Linked DNA regions of Homo sapiens: region 2 is linked to region 1. Evidence: promoter capture Hi-C in 16 types of primary human blood cells and fetal thymus (Javierre and others, 2016). All regions are on one chromosome and are shown on one strand. The core of a region is centred on a gene start or on the middle of the fragment in contact, and the rest is flanking DNA. Distances in the headings are between cores, read along the strand shown. Region 1 holds the start of NCOA2 (nuclear receptor coactivator 2). Region 2 holds the start of PEX2 (peroxisomal biogenesis factor 2).

Region 1 (3,160 bases), core at 2-2,501:
GCAGCCGGCAGCGACGACCCCGGCCCCCTCCCCCAGCACCCCCCAGGGGCCCGAGAGGGCCGGGTCCCCGTGCCCGGGGCGTGACCGTCGCGAGGCGGCCACAGGGCCCCTCCCGCTTCCCGCCTGGGGCCCCGAGGGCCTGTCCCTTCAGGGGCGGAGAGAAGGGGGCGAGAAAAGGGGGCGCTGGCGAGCCAACCCGGAACCTCCCGGTCCGCCTCCCGCCCCCGGCCCCGGCCCCAGCGCGCCTCCTGCATACACGCCCGCACCCAGAAAGTTCAGTCAGGGGCGAGCCCGGCTCGGCGCCGCCGGGGCCCGGCCCCCGGCTCCCCGCCCCCACCACGGCCCGGCCTGCTCGGCCCCAGCGCGCCGCCCGCCCCGCCCGCCGCAGCTCCTTCCCGTCCGCCCGCGGTGCTCGGCGCCCCTCGCCCCCCACCCCCGGGGCTGACACGGGCCCGGGCCACCCGCCGGGCCGCGGCTCCCCTTCCCCGCCCCGCGCTGCAGCTCGCCGGCCGCCCCGACACCCCGCTTCACCTTCACACACCCCCAGCACTTCCCGAGTCCTGCCTCCCCTCGCCCGGCTCCCACTCTCCGCTGCAGCCGCTCCGCGCTTCCATTAAAGAATGCACCTTCCCAGGATTCACCTTCTCGGCTCTGCCGCGCTGCCCCCGAGGGGTTAGAGCCTCGGTCTCCGCCGACCCCGCACCGGGCTGGGCAATGGGCACTCGCTCCTCGGGGCGGGGGCCGCGCCCGCACCCCCGGCCGCGCCTCGGCGCTCACCTCTCGCCCGCGCCGCGGGCTGCAGCCTCCGCCCGCCTCGCGCTCCGGGACTCGTCTCCTGAGCTCTCGCAAGGCGCTGGAGCGCCTCCTTTCTCTCCCGGGGACTCCGCGTCTCCCCGTCGCTTCCCGCCCTCCCCACCCCCAAGCCCCAACTCCCCAGCGTCGCTGCGCCTCCGGGATGCAACTCCCGTTTTCCGCGCACTCCGGCGGCGGTCCCCGCACACAAAAACAGCCTCTCGGAGGCGCACGGCTCTGTCGGAGCTCGGCGCAGGAAGGGCAGTCGCGGCCGGGGGTGGGGACGCGGCGCCCCCCGCCTGCCGCCCGCCCCCCGCCCGCCCTCGCGGCCCCGGGGGAAGGCGCGGTTACCGGCTCGGGTCGGTCACGCCGTCAGGTGCCGGCTGCCGTCGGCGCTGACCTTCGCCGCCGAAGCTGTAGCCGAGGCTGCGGCCGCCATGTTCCCGTGTTAATAACTGCTGCCTGGTTGTTTATTTCAATGGAGATCCTCCCCCAACTCCCTCCTCCTCCTCCTCCTCCTCCTCCTCCTCCGCGTCTCCGCACTTGCGGAGAGACAGACAGCGCGAGCTCGCGAGCAGGGGAGGGGGCTCGGGAGCCAGGCCGTCCCTCCCTCTGCCTCCCCGGCAGTGGCCGCCGCCAAGTCCTGTCACCGGGAAAAGGACGGGGCGGAAACTTGCCTCTCGCGCCCCCGAGGAAGGGGCAAAGGTGGACGCAGGGTTGTCCGGGGAGCAGCCCCTGGCCGCGGGGTCCGCAGCATCTCCGTCGGCAGAGTCCTCTGAGAAGGCGGCCCGGGGAGAGGTGAAGAAGAGTAAGGGGACAGGGGACAAAATGGGTGACTGTGGTAGAGGGAGGGTGACCTAGAGGTGACTGGAACTGAAGAGAGAGTCAACAGAGGACTGCATGGGAGGGCAAAGGGCAATGCCAAAAAGAAAACTAGCGACTGGGACGGGCCTGGGCCGCTGAGTTAGAGGCAGTGGGGCCTGGGGGCTGCAGACGGCAGGGACGGTGCCCCAGGACGAAGATCGGGGAGAGCCGAGTTCCAGGGTCGCCAGCAGAGGACCCTCGCGCCCGTCCGGCCGGACCCTTCGGCCAGCACCCTGCACCCCCTCGGGCGCACCTCACCCTACCCAACTCCCGGTCCTGCCGCTGCTCCCCGGAGGCGCCCCGCATCCGTCAAGTCCCCTACGGCTCCAACAGGGAGAGGCTTCTCCCATTGCAGTCCTAGCTCCAGAGGGGATGGAGAGGCGCGACTGTGGGAGCTGGAAGGGGCACCACCCGGCAATTGCGGGATAAAGCAAATGCTGCACACAGAGTGTGAAACTTAACCTGGTTGAGAATTTTCGGCACATCATGAAATCATAAGTTTGTATTGGAAAGTCCATTCTCTAGACATCCGTGAACAAAGTACTGAGGGGACGTAGGAGATTGGCACTGAAAATGCGAGAACCCCCATTTAAGTGTTACTTAGACCAATCTGTTTTACGCTTTGGAAAAGCAAGTTTTTTTTCCAACTTATACGGTAATTAGTTGAAAAAAAAAACTTTTGTTTAATGGCAGTTATCAAACTATGAGAGGAACATATTCCCTGATTTTAATCTTATAATGAGAAAGGTCACTTGCGGTAGACAATAAGAGTGTTTATTGAACACTTACTGTGAATCTGACTGTGCTAGGTGATGTATATATGCTATAGGCCTTAATCCTCAAACCTTCCGAAGTCATTGCCGCTTTTCACTTCACACAAAAAATTGAAGCTTAAAGTAATTTGCCCAGGGTCACAGCCAGTAGTTGGAGAGGATGTGAGCCCAGTTCTGGTGAGCTCCAAAGCCCATGCTTTTAAACATGTCTTCATCCTAAAATTTGTGGGTGTACCGCCAATTTTATTTGGGAAAAGAATAAAAAAAATGTGTGGGGTGTGTGTGTCTGTGTTTGTTTGTGGATAGAAAATGCTTGGAAGCCTATAACAACAAATGTTAGCGCTGGGGAGTGTAAGAAGTGGGTGATGAGGCACTTCCACTTTTTATTTTGCACACCTATCTAATGTTTGAAATGTTTGCATTGACTATGTATTAATGTATATTTTTAAAGGTTTTTTTTTTTTTTTTTTTTTTTTTTTTTTAGCTAGCTGGAATAATAGAATTATGTTCCCAAAGCGTTGAGAGGAAATGGAGAGTTTGTTTATGGCCTATCTTCTGCTAATACCAGTCTGTAGCTTGTCTACAATGGGGTAGTAGTCACCTGAGGTTTGTCACAATTCTGAACTCCCGATTTGCTTTCCTGTCCTCACCCCCAACTGTGAGTTATCAGGAGTTGTGATAATAAATAAATAAATAAATAAAAATTTAAAAAAAAGATTCTCCTTCTTGCT
Region 2 (3,394 bases), core at 30-2,529, 6.6 Mb after region 1:
TGAGTACTAACACTAGTTTCTAAAAATAAGGAGAATACGGCCAAGAGGTAAAATTGTACAAAGGCAACTAGAGTCAGGACTAGAATCCAACTGTCTTGATTTAGTCTAATACTCTTCAGTCTACTAGTCTAGTATTCGCTCTATGTCCTGTTACTTCTATTTTTTTTTTTAAGAAAAAAATATGAAGGGTTTTTTTTTTTGACTCTGTAAATAATTCTTTCAAATCTCTTTCTGGCTCAAGATCACTCAACTGTAATCTTTCTGGAAACAAGTAATTGATAATATAGGTGAGATCAGATAAGTTAAAAGAGCCACCCCAAGTTCATTCTGTTCAGGATTAAGTAAAGGTAACACTTTAGGGGAAGGTGTTTAGACTACAAGCTGCGGTGTTGTGAGCGCCCAAGTATCATTTAATTGTCCGAAACGTCAAGATAAAATATTTCCGAGGGGCATCACGGAAGTTTAACAGAATGTGTTAGACTTGAACGTTCAACAGCTTGCTCATTTTGCCAAAAGCCCTTTCACTAAATGTGGGAAATTTGGAAAATGGTACCTCAATAAATAAACAAACAACGATTTTTAATTTAAGAACCCAGGAAAAAATGTTAACAATTCTCACATTCAGATTTCTTATCAAAAGTCAACGTGAAATATAACTAATTTATCGCAAGCAATTTTATCAGAAACTTTTCATTATCTCTTCCTCCATAAGAAAACCAAACTGCATTTACGTGCGCTTTCAACAGTGTTAGAAAACTAAGCACTCAAATTTTTTGTACTACATATAACACTTTACATGAACTTTCAGATATTAAGTAAAGTTTGGATCCTCAATTCTTTATAAAGCCGTTTATAAGAGGTAAATATCTTCACGACCGCCAAATGAGAGAAAAAGATTTCGAAGTTCGTCTCTTAAGTTACTACGTGGAATGCAGAGGGGCTCAACTGCAGCTGTGTGTGTGTTTATTTTTAATGCCGCGATCCTAAAAACATCTTTAGGAGTTTAGGTTTGCTTCACTGCCTTTCCCAAAATTCAGCAGCTTTGATTTGCCTTTTCCAGGGAGACAGGAAGCCAATAAACAGGGAAAAAAAAGCAAACGGCGACAATTACAAGGTCGTGAAACTCCACGACCTCCCAGCTGAAAACAAGACCTCGGGTTTGCACTCCGGCTCTCTAGGGCAGACACTGACCTTAGGAGTCTGCGAAACGCCCACGCTCCACGTAACTTTCTCTGAAACATTCTCTGGAAAGCTTGTCTTTTCCTAGCCGAATCTGGATTACCAAGGCTTCCGGAACTCGCAGGCTTCCGGAGCGACGCAGGAGCCGGAAGTGGCTGAAAAAAAAAAGAAAAAGTTACACCAACGAGAACTGCGCTTTAGCGGCGCTGCTGAAGGCACTGGATGGCCAAACAACCGCGAACGCCGACAAGCCGAAGAGCCGAAGGGCCGAAAAGCCGAAGCGGACACCCGCGCGCGGTGATTGGCCGGTTGGCCGGAAGAACTCTGTCTCTGATTGGCAGGAGAGTCACGAACCGGTCAGCCCCGGGTCAGGGGCCGCAAGTGAGGACACTACAAGTGTCGAGGGGCCTAGGGGAAGCCGGGGCTTGGGAGGGCAGGGCTTTCTCTGCTTGCGGACATCGCGAAGGGCCTCTGGCAGGCGCCGCCGGGTGGCGGCGAGACGCCTCCGCGCCTCCGGGGTTCCTTGTTCGCTGTCGGAGGAGGACCGGCTGAGGGATGGCCTGGTGGGGAGGGAGCCCTCGGGCAGGTGGCTGCGTCGGGCCTGGGGCAGTTGTGCTGCGCTTGGAGACCTGCCCGCCCTCGGGGCCTGTGTGCACAGGGAGGATAGGCTGTTTATCTCTGCAGGCTCAGGAAGGCAGGTAGCTGGCCCGTCAGTCATCCGCCCTGCAAAGCGCTCCCGAGAGACCCCGTAGAGCGGGCCAGCGCGCGCCTGGCCTGAGGTTTCCCGCCCCCGGAGGCCCTCACATCTCCCCGGTAACGCTTAGGAATTCGGGCAGCCAGCTCGCCTACCCCTGGGGAATCGAGGCAGAGCTTCTGGGAATGGGGTCTGAGGGAAGAGTGCTCACCAGGCAGTGACATGTAGCCGTTGAGGATCGCCACTGCCTTCTCGTTCTGTGGTATGAATGGCAGTGTCTCTCTAGAGAGTTAGTGCTTAAGTTTGAATGATGGCAGGCACTTCAGGATTCCAGCACGTAGTAGGGTTTAAGAACGTCTTAGTTCTTACCTCCAGTCTCGACTCACCGTTCCTACAAGGAACACTCACTTCTACGAAAGCTCTATTAGACATTCGAGGGAGAGCTTATACTGTAGAACCAGTGTTATTAGGAAAGTTTTTTTTTTTTTGCTTGTATTTTTATTTCAGAAACTACCCATGGAGCAGAGTTGCTAAAATAAAATTTATTAACTCTAATGCTATCCAAATTGTGAAACAATGGTACAAATGAGATAGAGTAGAAGCTACAAATTGATAGAGTATGTAGTTCACTTAGGGGTTTGGGAGTGGATTTTCTAGAGCTGCAACTGTCCAGTGTAGTAGTCACTGGCCACCTGAAAAGTGGCTAGTCTGAACTGAGGTCTGCTCTAAGTGTAGAACATGCACCAGATTTCTAAAGCGTGGTCTGAAAAGAAAAAGAATGTAAAGTATTTCATTAATTTTATATTGCTTACATGTCAAAATGAGAATGTTTTGGAAAATTTTAAATTACGTGGCTTCCATTATATTTCTATGGATACTGCTGTTCTAGAGAGTAAAAAAATCTCACTGAAGAAGAGTAGGCCTTTCGTTTAGCAACTGTGAAGAAAACCAACCACGCTGCACCTCTCAGGTAGCCTACAGATGTGCTGTGCTTCACTTAATTTTTGAGAGGGACGGGGGAAAATACACACAAAGACTTGATTGACATAGAGGACATTTTCAGAAAGCAAATTCTGGTTCATAGAGCCTTATGTATGTCATGTGAACATCACACAGTAGCGAATGAAAATAATAAAGATATCAAGAAACTTGAATCATATTTAATGAATCTCATTAAGAATGCGGGGAAACATGCAACAGTTAAAATTCTGTTGAAATTGTTTAAAATAAGTTCTAGATTTTAATGTTTAACCTGTAGATACAGTATACCTTCTTAATTTTCCCATGAGCTGGTGAGCTGAGGTTCCAGGGAAGCTTTGTTTCCAGTTTTTTAAAGATATATTTATTTTTCATTCATTTATTTAACAAAAGCTTTCTGAGGCCCGGGAGTTTTGCTAGGCAGTGTTGATAAAAATGTGAAGACAGAAAACAGACACGGCTCTTACTCTCTCAGAGCTAATTCATATCAGTTCAGAGGCAGTGAATAAGTAAATAATAACCAAGACAGAATATTTTCTTCTT

Evidence for each region. Contacts are between HindIII fragments. The CHiCAGO score rates a contact against its expected background, and 5 or more counts as called.
Region 2: a contact is called between the fragment with the promoter of PEX2 here and the fragment with the promoter of NCOA2 in region 1, in 1 of 17 cell types (non-activated CD4 T cells). The highest score is 10.8, in non-activated CD4 T cells.

The regions. Positions count from the first base shown.
Region 1 is chr8:70,402,557-70,405,716 of GRCh38, forward strand. NCOA2 (nuclear receptor coactivator 2) reads right to left here and starts at 1,252. Exons shown (of 23, transcript NM_006540.4): 1 at 1,144-1,252. RefSeq lists silencers at 1-508, 539-828, 869-1,178, 1,869-2,028 and an enhancer at 1,649-1,768. The HindIII fragment of the contact is 4,231 bases long and covers 1-2,544 here.
Region 2 is chr8:76,998,799-77,002,192 of GRCh38, forward strand. It overlaps PEX2 (peroxisomal biogenesis factor 2), which reads right to left and starts at 1,280. Exons shown (of 4, transcript NM_000318.3): 1 at 1,192-1,280. RefSeq lists an enhancer at 1,275-1,569. The HindIII fragment of the contact is 1,935 bases long and covers 1,251-3,185 here.